Linked DNA regions of Homo sapiens: all the other regions are linked to region 3. Evidence: promoter capture Hi-C in 16 types of primary human blood cells and fetal thymus (Javierre and others, 2016). All regions are on one chromosome and are shown on one strand. Each heading gives the region's core, a stretch centred on a gene start or on the middle of the fragment in contact. The rest is flanking DNA. Distances are from core to core; before and after follow the strand shown.

Evidence for each region. The method cuts DNA at HindIII sites, captures the fragments that hold promoters and counts their contacts. A CHiCAGO score of 5 or more calls a contact.
Region 1: a fragment that was not itself captured here is called in contact with the fragment with the promoter of OGDH in region 3 in 1 of 17 cell types (non-activated CD4 T cells); the score reaches 5.0 in non-activated CD4 T cells.
Region 2: a contact is called between a fragment that was not itself captured here and the fragment with the promoter of OGDH in region 3, in 2 of 17 cell types (monocytes and total B cells). The highest score is 8.3, in monocytes.

The regions. Positions count from the first base shown.
Region 1 is chr7:44,909,335-44,913,488 of GRCh38, reverse strand. No RefSeq gene overlaps it. Among named protein-coding and RNA genes, the nearest start is that of PURB, 26 kb to the right of the region's middle. RefSeq lists enhancers at 886-1,385, 1,386-1,887. The HindIII fragment of the contact is 6,622 bases long and covers 1-4,154 here.
Region 2 is chr7:45,016,197-45,020,486 of GRCh38, reverse strand. All of the region lies in intron 1 of CCM2 (CCM2 scaffold protein), which reads right to left. Among named protein-coding and RNA genes, the nearest start is that of CCM2, 18 kb to the right of the region's middle. The HindIII fragment of the contact is 4,740 bases long and covers 268-4,290 here.
Region 3 is chr7:44,604,776-44,609,228 of GRCh38, reverse strand. OGDH (oxoglutarate dehydrogenase) reads right to left here and starts at 2,602. Exons shown (of 23, transcript NM_002541.4): 1 at 2,576-2,602. RefSeq lists enhancers at 1,613-1,952, 1,628-2,191, 2,443-3,042 and a silencer at 2,173-2,402. The HindIII fragment of the contact is 8,395 bases long and covers 1,956-4,453 here.

The DNA.
Region 1 (4,154 bases), core at 488-2,987, 310 kb before region 3:
CACAGCCTGTCTACCTCCGTCCTATACAGGTTTTACTGACCCAGAATCCAACAAAGAGTAGGTGCTCAATAACTGTGGATGATTTTTGAGTGGTTCTAAATCTGAGCACTCCCATACTGTCTGAACAAATGACAGCTTGTGTCTGTGTCCCAAAGTGTGCCATCAGGAGCAGGCTCTCTAATGGACCATGCGTGTGAAGCAGCCTGTGTGTGAAGCAGGTTTGTAAAGAGAGCCACGTGGTGAGCTTGGTGGTGGCCAGAAGTCAGTGACCAGCCAGGAGGAAAGGAGCTTCAGGTAGACAGCTGATCTGAAGGCGGGGGCTGGGCCTGGGGGTTGGGGGTGGGAGGGCAGGTAGGAAAGAGGCCTGGACAGATCCAGGACCTGCCTCACCTCGGCCTGGCCATTCTGCCCTTAGAAACATTCCTATCTCAGGGCCCATTTCCTGCTTTCCTTCCTGAAAGCCTATGCAGGTCCTCCTCATGCCAGGGCCTATGTCCCCCGAGGCTGAAGGGAGGGCAGCAGGGTGCCTGGTGCTTCCTGGTGCCTCTATTTGCTGAATCTGGCCAAGCCACATGGAAGAACACACAGCTGGTGAGGAGCAGAGACTGCAGCTTCTGGAAATGGGATGGGAGTCGGCCCTTTCCTAATATCCCACACTGTCCAGAGCTGAGAAAGTAGATGCAAGGGTCGGGAAGATGGCAGAGAAAGCTGACCTTAAGCACAGAACCCCGCCTTGTAGTTCTGTACTTCATCAGCACCAGGAATGTGATGAGCCCCTGGGCTCTCAATTTTGTTTTGCAATTGAGATTTTTTTTTTAATTAAAAGAAATGATGTTCTTATGCCTCCTTTTAAACAGTTTCTCAGATATGGCTCAGCCCACAATGCACTTGGAGAGGTGTTGACCCGTCCTGAGCAGAGTTGAAACTGCCCTCCCTGGGGTGGGCAGTGAGCCTGAGAGCCCCAGCTGTTAGAAACCCTGGCTCTTCTCTCTCACTCTGCCCCCAGGGACAAATCATGCCATCTCTCTGGGTGTCAGTCTCTCCCTATAGTTCTGGAGAGCTGAGTTGGCATACCTCTGAGACCAGCAAAGTCATCATAAAAAGTTCCCATTATTGGGAATGAAGCAATTTCCCAGGTCCGTGGGAAGACTATGGAATTGGGTCACAAGTCACAGATGGAAAGGCATGGGCCACAGTGGGGGACTGGGTCCCTTCTTGGCAAGAACCCACCGGGACACAGTCCCTGCCTGTCATTCTGCCTTGCTGGCTGCAGGCCCAGGACCACCGGCCAGAAGCCATGAGAGATCAGGGCAGGACACGGGCAGCTTCAACGGTCACCCCAGACTGAGACACCACACGGGCCCGGGCCTCAGCCCCACTCTGCCCTGCTGCAGAGGCCATCTGCCTCCTGGCCTTGTGACTTCCTGCTGGGACTGAGCCCAGCACTAGCCCTGGCTGTATGGGCTGCAGCCTGGATCCCCATTCACCCTGACTGCTGACCCCTGACCCCTGAACCTCCTTGGGTTCCTGCCAACGTCTTTCTTCCAAGGCCAGGCCTGAAGTTTGGCAATCAAGACGCATGGATTTCTAGGATCTAGAAGTTTGGTCAGCCAAATCATTACCATCTAAATGACCCCCCAGGGTCCCCGTAATACATTTTAAACTTTTTAATTGAAGTATAACAGATATATATCCTAAGTATTCAGTCGGTGACTTATGCAAAGTGAGCACTAGGTCCTTTCATGTGCTGTAGGCCATTTGTATGTCTTCTCCAGAGAAATGCTTTGTCAGGTCCTTTGCCATTTTTGAATTGGGTTATGTGGGTTTTTTATTGTTGAGTTTTTGTTCTTTTTTTTTTTTTTTTTTTTTGAGACAGAGTCTTGCTCTGTCACCCAGACTGGAGTGCAGTGGCACCATCTCTGCTCACCGCAAGCTCCACCTCCTGGGTTCATGCCATTCTCCTGCCTCAGCCTCCCGAGTAGCTGGGACTACAGGTGCCCGCCACCATGCCCAGCTAATTTTTTGTATTTTTAGTAGAGACGGGGTTTCATCGTGTTAGCCAGGATGGTCTCAATCTCCTGACCTCGTGATCTGCCCGCCTCAGCCTCCCAAAGTGCTGGGATTACAGGCGTGAGCCAGCGCGCCCGCCGCTTTTTTTCTTTTTTTTTAGTGACAGTATCTTGCTCTGTCACCTAGGCTGGAGTGCAGTGGCGCAATTATAGCTCACTGTAGCCTCCAACTTCTGAGCTCAAGCAATCCTCCTATCTCAGCCTCTCAAGTAGCTATAACTACAGGCGTGTGCCACCATGCCTGGCTAATTTCTTTCTTTCTTTTCTTTCTTTCTTTCTTTCTTTCTTTCTTTCTTTCTTTCTTTCTTTCTTTCTTTCTTTCTTTCTCTCTCTCTCTCTCTCTCTCTCTCTTTCTTTCTTTCTTTCTTTCTTTCTTTCTTTCTTTCTTTCTTTCTTTCTGAGACGGAGTTTCACTCTTGTTGCCCAGGCTGGAGTGCAATGGTGCAATCTTGGTTCACCACAACCTCTGCCTCCCAGGTTCAAGCGATTCTCCTGCCTCAGCCTCCCAAGTAGCTGGGGTTACAGGCGCCCACCACCATGCCTGGCTAATTTTTTATATTTTTAGTAGAGATGGGATTTCACTGTGTTGGCCAGGCTGGTCTCGAACGCCTGACCTCATGATCTACCTGCCTCGGCCTCCCAAAGTGCTGGGATTACAGGCGTGAGCCACCATACCCACCCACCTAATTTCTACTTTTTATTTTTATTTATTCATTTATTTATTTTTGAGACAAAGTCTCACTGTGTCACCCAGGCTGGAGTGCTCACTGCAACCTCCACCTCCCGGGTTCAAGTGATTCTCGGGCCTAGCCTCCCAAGACCAGGAGGTGTGCACCACCATGCCTGGCTAATGTTTGTATTTTTAGTAGAAACGAGGTTTCCCCATGTTGACCAGGCTGGTCTGAAACTCATCTGCCCACTTGTCCTCCCAAAGTGCTGAGATTACAGGTGGAAGCCACCGTGCCTGGCCTTATTTTTATTTTTATCTTTTGTAGAAACAGGGTTTCACTATGTTGCTCAGCCTGGTCTTGAACTCCTGGCCTCAGGTGATCCATGGTGGCACAAGCCACTATGCCCAACCTCAGCTTTAATTCTTTATATGATAGCCTGCATATTAATCCCATATCAGATGTATGCTTTGCAATTATTTTGTCCCATTCTGTGGTCTTCCTTTTTTCTTGTGTTGCCCAGTCTGGACTCATCCTCCTGAACTGCTCTGCGGGCCCCACCCACAATGACAGAGCCTGAGGCCAGGCCTTTCTGAGCCTCCTTCTCTTGAGCTGCTGTCAACCTGGTTTCTCCAATCTTGTCTTTCATACAGGATTTCTTTATTAGTAGTATTTGCACAGTAGTTAAATTGGGAAACATAGGAATTTTAAGGAAAAGGAAAAAGGCACCCACAATTCTACCATGCCTACGAATAAAATCATTTTCTGTGCTGCCTTTGAATCTTTGTCTATGTTCATAGATTAATTTTAATAAACATTGTGGGGGTGCAGCTGAACCACTGAAGTTCTCTGCCTCGCACAGAGATCTTTGCCAGGGTCTCTTGTGGATTTGTTTTGTTTTGCTTTGTTTTTTGAGGCAAGGTCTCACTTTGTCACCCAGGCTGAAGTGCAGTGACGCAATCACAGCTCACTGCAGCCTCAAATGTCTAGGCTCAAGTGATCTCCCTACCTCAGCCTCATGAGTAGCTGAGACCATAAGCACGCACCACATACTCAGCCTCTTCTTCTTCTTTTTTTTTTAAATTTTCGTAGAATCGGGGTTTCTCCACCATGGCCAGGCTGATATTAAACTACTGAGCTCAAGCGATCCTCCTGCCTCAGCCTCCCAAAGTGCTGGGATTACAGGTGTGAGCCATCTCACATCTCACCCAGCCTCCTGTGTTTTTTTCAAATCTTGATTCATTTTCTCTCTTATTAGCCGTTCCGGCTGGCTTTAGTTTGTCTGCACATTTTATTTATTTATTTACTTATTTTTATGCTGAGGTTTTTGGGAGTTTTCAGGGGGACAGGGTTTCACTCTGTTGTCCAAGCTGAAGTGGCAATGTTGTAGTGTTGCCATCATTGCTTACTGTAACAT
Region 2 (4,290 bases), core at 1,388-3,887, 410 kb before region 3:
GGAGGGCTGCTGTTTAAATACAGTAGCCCACAGATAAAAATGCCATTCCACCCTAAAGAAGAATAAAGAAACTATATATCTATAATGAAAGAGCTCCAAAACACACTGTCAAGAAAAAATAAACCCAAAGAAGTTCTTATTCCCTTAAGAGAGAAGTAGACTGTATCAAAATAACTTTCTCACAGACCGAGATTATGAACTCTAGATAAAATGTGAAAAACAATCTTCTAAAGACACTGGAGACAAACAAGAAATAAAAAAGAAGCTTGGAATTTATATGACCCTTGAAAGAAGGGAACATCACTGGGCAAGATCCACTTTTATATTGCTTTACTCCTGAGAGTATGCCCCAGTCTCAGAGGAGTGGAGCAGAGAAAAAAAAGCTGCAATTTTATTGGCCTGACAGGTTAAAGGAGGATTTGAGACTGCTAAAGAAGCTGGAAATTGAGAGGGAAATATAGGAAAGGAGGAACCCACTAAAAAAGGAACCCAAAGTCTGAGTATAAGGTCCCCTCAAATCTTTGGCTGAACCCTGAACTGCGTAAGCGGAGGTGAGACTCCCACAAGCCCAGAAAGGACACGATAGCTTGAAGGTTGAAGGAGCAAGCTGATGGCTGGGTGCGGGAGCTCATGCCTATAATCCCAGCACTTTGGGCGGCCAAGGCAGGAAGATCACTTGAGTTCAGGAGTTTGAAACCAGCCTGGGCAACATAGTGAGACCCCATTTCTACAAAAATAAAAATTAGCCAGATAGTGCATGCCTGTAGTCCTACCTACTTGGGAGGCTAAGGTAGGAGAATTGCTTGAGCCCAGAAGTTTAAGGTCACAGTAAACTATGATCACACCATTGCACTCTAACCTGGGTAACAGAGCAAGATCCGTCTCAAAAAAAAAGCTGAGATTTTAGCTCTCCCTAGCTGCAGGGTAGATAAGAGTTTGGAGTCCAAGTCCTGCCAAGTTAAAGGGGCTTAATCAGTACCTTAAACACTTGAGACTATCCATTTGAAACCCCACAAAGGCCACATCTTAGGAGTAAAACATACATTCCAGGACTAAGAAATTTACCCTAAGAGTAAGGACAAAGATCAAAACTGATCTACCAAACCAAAGTATAAAACCCAGCCAGGTGCGGTGGCTCATTCCTGTAATCCCAGGAGGCGGAAGCAGGAGGATGGCTTGAGGCCAGGAGTTCAAGACCAGCCTGAGCAACATACTGAGATTCCATCTATATTTAAAAAACTTTTTTCATTAGCCGGGCACAGTGGTGCATGCCTGTAGTCCCGGCTACTCAGGAGGCTGAGGCAGGAGAATCACTTGAACCCGGGAGGCGGAGGTTGCAAGGTTGCAGTGAGCCGAGATCACGCCACAGCACTCCAGCCTGGCCAACAGAGTGAGACCCTGTCTCAAAAAAAAAAAAAAAAAAAAAAGGCCAGGCGCAGTGGCTCACGCCTATAATCCCAACACTTTGGGAGGCCGAGGCAGGCAGATCATCTGAGGTCAGGAGTTCGAGACCAGCCTGGTCAACATGGCAAAACCACATTTCTATTAAAAATACAAAAATTAGCCTGGCATGGTGGTGCATGCCTGTAATCCCAGCTACTTGGGAGGCTGATGCAGGAGAATCACTTGAATCTGGGAGGCAGAGGTTGCAGTAAGCTGAGATTGCGCTACTGCACTCCAGCCTGGCGACAGAGTAAGACTCCATCTCAAAAAAAAAAAAAAGAAATTCTTAAAACTGTCAAATAAAAGACATTCAGTACAACAAAAATGACAGGTAACTTCTCAAGAGAAAAAATGGATGCCAGAAGATAATGAGTCTTCATCTTTAAAATGCCAAAAGAAGCTGGGCATGGTGGCTCACGCCTTGGGAGGCTCAGGCAGGCAGATCACTGGAGGTCAGGAGTTGAAGACCAGCCCCATCAACATGGTGAAACCCCATCTCTGCTAAAAATACAAAAAAAAATTAGCTGGGCGTGGTGGTATGTGCCTATAATCACAGCTACCCAGGAGGCTAAGGCAAAAGAATCACTTGAACCCAGGAGGTGGAGGTTGCAGTGAGCAAGATCACGCCACTGCACTCCAGCCTGGGTGACAAAGCGAGACTCTATCTCAAAATAAATAAATAAATAAATAATAAAAAATGCTGAAAGAAAACAGTCAACCTAGAATTCTATATCCTGTAAAACAGAGGTCCCCAGCCCCCAGGCCACAGACTGGTCTGGGTCCGTGGCCTGTTAGGAGCCAGGCCGCACACAGCAGGAGGTGAGTGGAGGGCCAGCAAGCATTACCACCTGAGCCCCGCCTCCTGTGAGATCAGTGGCTGCATTAGATTCTCATAAGAGTACAAACCCTGAACTGTGTGTTGGAGGGATCTAGGTTACGCACTCCTTAGAGAATCTAATGCCTGATGATCTGATATGGAAGTTTCATCCCAAAACCTTTTCCCCACTTTGGTCTATGGAAAAACTGTCTGCCACGAAACCGGTCCCTGGTGTCAAAAAGGTTGGGGACTGCTGCTGTAAAACTATCCTTCAAAAATGAAGATGAAATGAAGGTATTTTCAGATAATAAAAGGTGAAACAATGTGTCAGACCTACACCATGAAAAATTCTAAGCAAGGTCTTCAGGCTAAGAACTAAAAATAAAATCCTAAGCACTCCAACTGACTGAACAAAGCCTGTTTTGGTTCCAGCCATGACAAGATGCCTTGGGACGCACCTCATTATATTCCCTCCCTTTTGTAGTTCAGGCACAACTGACCAGCATTAATGTTAAAATAGAGACCACAAAACTGACAGAATGGACTCTGTGGCAATAAAATACCAAATTACATGCGTTCATGAAGATCATGGGGAAAAAAAGACACCAAATTATAAACAAGACCTACGACCGTGCCAGGTAAGGATTCAGCCACACAGTCTGACTCTTCAAGATCAACTCTGTTCTAACTGCCACAGGGTTCTTCTTTTTCTCTAGCAGCCAAACAAGCACTGTCCTGGATAAGCAATAGGAAAACAACTGCAACTCACCACCAGATGCCAACTGACCTCCTGTTCCACAAGCCAAAACTATAGCTGTGACTGTATAAGAGACTGACTTCAGTAACTCTCTCCTGACAAGAAGACCACCAGCCACAGACTGGTTCTAGCCAGTTTATAGAGGCTGTGCACTTGAGTGCCCTGTCTCCTTGCTTCACCTTTTGAGGTATGGGGCCTGAATATAATGTTGTCTCCACCTCAAAGTGAACATGGAATGCAAAGAACATGCCTGTCTGGAAAAAATAACTGTCAGATACTACGCTTAGTACCTGGGTGATGAAATAATCTATACACCAAATCCCCATGACAGATGTTTACCTATATAACAAACCTGCACATGTACCCCTGAACCTAAAAGTTCTTTTAAAAATGAATGTTTGGGCCAGATGCAGTGGCTCACGCCTGTAATCTCAGCACTTTGGGAGGCCGAGGCAGGTGGATCACGAGGTCAGGAGATCGAGACCATCCTGGCTAACATGGTGAAACCCTGTCGCTCCTAAAAATACAAAAAAAATTAGCCAAGCGAGGTGGCTCACGCCTGTAATCCTAGCACTTTGGAAGGCCGAGACAGTCAGATCACTTGAGGCCAGGAGTTAGAGATCAGCCTGGTCAACATGGTGAAACCCTGTCTCTACCAAAAATACAAAAATTAGCCAGGCGTGGTGGTAGGCGCCTGTAATCCCAGCTACTTGGGAGGCTGAGGCAGGAGAATCGCTTGAACCTGGGAGGCGGAGGTTGCAGTGAGCCAGGATCGCGCCACTGCACTCCAGCCTGGGCAACAGAGCAAGACTCCATCTCAAAAAAAAAAGATGCATGTTTGGGCCAGGCACAGTGGCTCATGCCTGTAATCCAGCACTTTGGGAGGCTGAGGCGGGTGGATCACCTGAGGTCAGGAGTTCAAGACCAGCCTGACCAATATAATGAAACCCCGTCTCTACTAAAAATACAAAAATTAGCCAGGCCTGGTGGCATGCGCCAGTAATCCCAGCTACTCAGGAGGCTGAGACAGGAGAATCGCTTGAACCCGGGAGGCAGAGGTTGCAGTGAGCCAAGATCGCGCCATTGCACTCCAGCCTGGGCAACAAGAGTGAAACTGTCTCAAAAAAAATAAATAAAATAAAATAAATTGCATGTCTGTTCAGTACACATGCATCAGGACCCCCTCCATGAATATTCATAACTCCTCCTATAACCTGTTGAATATGTATATACTTGGTCAGCACAAACCCATTCAGCACAAATTCCTGTTCCA
Region 3 (4,453 bases), core at 1,353-3,852:
TGGCCAAGGAATGAACTACCCATAACACGCAACAACCTGGATGATTCTCCAGGGAATTAAGCTGACTGGAAAAAACCAATCCCAAAAGGCTCTATGAATCCTTTTATTTGGCATTCTTGACATGCCAAAATTAGGGAAATGAAGAACAGATTAGTGGTTACCAGGAGTTGAAGGACTGGGAATGGGAGGAATGTGGGTGTGGCTATAAAAAAGCAATGGAAGGGATCCTTGTGATGACGGGAATATTCTGTATCTTGAATTTTATTAATGTCAATATCTGGCTGTGATATTTACTATAGTTTTGCACAATGTTAGAGAAGTGGGAAAGGAACACAGGATCTCTCTGTACTATTTATTATGACTGCATAGAATAAATTTTTATGTACAATTTCTTAAAATTTTACTGTTTTCAAAATGAATTTCTCAATAATTTGTACAATGATCTCAAAAATTACCTAAAAATCTAAAAAGTAGATGATACTGTAGTTTTTTCTTTCCTTTTTTTTTTGAGATGGAGTCTTGCTCTGTCGCTCAGGCTGTAGTGCCGTGGCGCCATCTCGACTCGCTGCAACCTCTGCCTCCTGCGTTCAAGCGATTCTCCTGCCTCAGCCTCCTGCTGAGGCTGGAGGAGCTCAGCCTGTAGCTGAGACTACAGGCCCACGCCACCATGCCCTGCTAACTTTTGTATTTTTAGTAGAGACAGGGTTTCACCATGTTGGCCAGGCTGGTCTCAAACTCCCAACCTCAGGGGATCCACCCACCTCGGCCTCCCAAAGTGCTAGGATTACAGGCGTGAGCCACTGCGCCCGGCCTTTTTTTTTGAGACAGGATCTCACTGTGTCACCCAGGCTAGAGTGCAGTGGGGCAATAATGGCTCACTGCAGCTTGGACCTCCCTGGCTCATGCCATCCTCCCGCCTCAGCCTCCTGAGTAGTTGCGACTACAAGTATATGTGGTATATGCCACCATATCCGGATAATTTTATTTTTTGTAGACGCCGGGTATCACTTTGGTTGCTCAGGCTGGTCTCCTTGAACTGAGCTCAAGGGATCTTCCTTTCACACTCCCAAAGTGTGGGGATTACAAACGTGAGCCACCACGACTGGCCGAAATTGTGCACGTCAAATGGGTGAATCGTATGGTATGTGAATTTTATCTCAATAAAGATGTTATTTAAAGGGAAAAAGTAACTGAAATGTGAAAAGTGCGCTTAAAAAAAATAATGAGGGGCCGGGCGCAGTGGCTCACGCCTGTAATCCCAGCACTTTGGGGGCCGAGGCGGGCGGATCACCTGAGGTCAGGAGTTCGAGAATAGCCTGGCCAAGGTGGTGAAAACCCGTCTCTACTAAAAATACAAAAATTAGCCGGGCGTGATGGCGCGTGCCTGTAATATCAGCTACTTGGGAGGCTGAGGCAGGAGAATCACTTGAACCCAGGAAGGCAGAGGTTGCAGTGAGCCGAGATCGCGCCACAGCACTCCAGCCTGGGCGACAGAGACTCCATCTCAAACAAGACAACAACAACAAAAAATGAGCATACAGTGATCTTTATTCAACTTCCCAAGATCCAGTCCTCAGCTAATTTACAAAACTACAATAGTGTTACATACTCTCCTAGGTCTACACGGCAAAGTACAGTTTGACTGTTGCAACTAGTGCTGCCTTACAAAAAAAGGCTTTATCCCATGCCACCCATCCTAAACCCAGCTGTTCAGAGCAGTGTACCTGGAAATCAGCCTCAAAGTACGGACTGCAAGACAAGGCACAAGGAAACCCTAACACGAAGTCCTATGTTCTGGGCAAAGGGATGGGGATGGCAGGTGGGACGCACCCAGGTCAGGGCGAGGGCGCGGCAAGTTTTCTATTAAATCTCAGTAGATTACAACTCATATCCAATGTCTGATATATTTTCGAGGGAAAATGGTGCTTGAAAGATGTTTCTACGAGAAATAAGCTTCATCTCGGTCAATCTGTTCGACCCAACTTCTGGCAGCAGGTGTGGGGGCGGCGCCAAGGTCTGCGCGGTAATCCAAACAGGCAGTCCCACCCAGGGCCACCCCAAAGCCAGATGCTCCGACGCAACTCGAGCAGGCCACACTGTCTTTCGGACAAAGCGACGCGGTCCTCACAGGCGGGAAGGAGAGTGCGTCCCGGTCGGGAAGGACGCCGTCGGAGAGCGGCCTAACCACGTGACGCCCGCGGCGACCTTGGGGGTCACCCCTGCGGACGCACCGCCCTCTCCCTCACATCCGCCGCCGCGCCCGCCCCCCGCTCGCCCACCGCCAATGGCGCGTCGCTCCGCGCCCCGCGCGACCTCGGAGCCCGCCCGTACCCGCCAATCTCCGCCCGCCGGGCAGGCCCCGCGGCTCCATTGGCTGCCACGGCCATCCATCAGGTCCCGTCCCTCCTACCACCCTCCGTGAGCCCCACTCCATCCAGCTCCACTCCCCTGTCACCGCGGCGCCCGCAGCACCAAGGGCGCGGCGGCCTCCCCCTTTACCGCGATCTCCAACCCCGGGCCGCCAAGCGCCGCGACACCCGGCACTGGGACGGGCGCGGCGACAGCGCACGGTTACCTGTCTCCGGCTCAGCTCCACCCGAATGAGGCGCCGACACCCCACTCCGGGGCTCCAAACTCTCGGCCCCGCCCCGGCGTATGGCGTCAACACGTAGCCCTCCCCTGGAGAAGAATGCCCTCCCCTCTTACAGAGGACCGATTCGTGACGTCACAGAGCCGCGCCGGGCGTCACAGCGCCGACTGCGCAGTTGCAGAAGCCAGGGCCAGCTGGAGCCCAGCTGTTTGCTCCGCTAGAGAGATGAGGTTGTCTATGGACTTCCAGCGGCTTCTGCTATCATAAATAATTTCTGAAAGTAAGATATCTCTAGCGCCTGGTAGGAACCTATCAAGAGATAGTTGGGTTGATGTGAAACTTAGCGCACAAAAATAAACAATTTGAATAACAGAATCTCCGTTTTTGAGATTGTCCTGGGTCAGGCTTTGTGACAAGCGCTTCACCGGCGCTATTGTGTAACAATCTGTGAGACAGGTGTTCCTATCCCCGGTCTACAAATGACAGTTGGCAGTGCTGGGATCTTGCCCGGGATCTTGCCTGGGTTTTCTTGACTTTAGAGCTACCTATCAAAGATAAAACGTGGCTAATTAACCTGTCACAACCTGTTGATTGTAAGATGTTCCCTATTTTAAAGTATTAAAATTTGGGGAAAGGCCGGGCGCGGTGGCTCACGCCTGTAATCCCAGTACTTTGGGAGGCCGAAGCGGGCGGATCACTTGAGGTCAGGAGTTCGAGACCAGCTTGACCAACATGGGGAAACCCCGTCTCTACTAAAAATACAAAAATTAGCTGGGCGTGGTGGCGATCCCAGCTACTCGGGAGGCTGAGGCAGGAGAGTCGCTAGAACCCGGGAGACGGAGGTTGCGGTGTGCCGAGATCGTGCCATTGCACTCCAGCCTGGGCAACAAGAGCGAAAATCCGTCTCAAAAAACAAACAAAAAAAGGGGGCGTATAAGTGCTTATTATAGAACAAAGTTAGGGTAATGTATGTGACAAGGATCTAGAGACTGGAAGAGGTGAAGAGACCAAGGAACAAACTTCTGTATTCTTTTTTCCTTTTTTTTTTTTAAATAAATTACGGTAAAAATGTATGTACTAAACATTTGCAGCTGGGTGCAGTGGCTCACGCTTGTAATCCCAGCACTTCGGGAGGTGGAGGCGGGAGGATCGCTTGAGCTCAGGAGTTCCAGATCAGCCTGGGGAACAGAGCAAGATCTCATTTCTACTAAAAAATCAAGAAAATTAGCCAGGTGTAGTGGCACTCACCTGTAGTCTCAGCTAATTGGGAGGCTGAGGCAGGAGGATCTCTTGAGCCTGAGAGATTGAGGCTGCAGTGAGCTATGATTGTACCACTGCACTCCAGCCTGGGCCAGAGAGCAAGATACTGTCTTTTTTTTTTTAATGCCATTTTAACCATTTTTAGGTGTATAACTCAGTGGCATTAATTACATTCACAATATTATGCAACCGTCACCACTCAATTTCCAAAACTTTTTCATCACCTGAAACAGCAACTCTGTAACCATTAAGCAATAACTTCCTATTTCCCCTTCTCCTCCTGTCCTTCTCTCCTTTGGTAACCTCTATTATACGGTCTCTATACATTTGATTACTCAATTACTTTATGTGGGTGAAATCATAATGTATATGTCCTTTTGTGTCCACCTTATTTCATTGAGCATGAGGTTGTCAAGGTTTATCTGTGTTGTAGCATGGGTCAGAACTTCATTTCTTTTTTTTTTTTTTGAGACAGGATCTCCCTCGGTTTCAGGCTGGAGGGCAGTGGTGCCATCTCAGCTCACTGCAATCTCTGCCACCCAGGTTCAAGTGATTCTGATGCCTCAGCCTCCCAAGTAGCTGGGACTACTGGCACGCTCCACC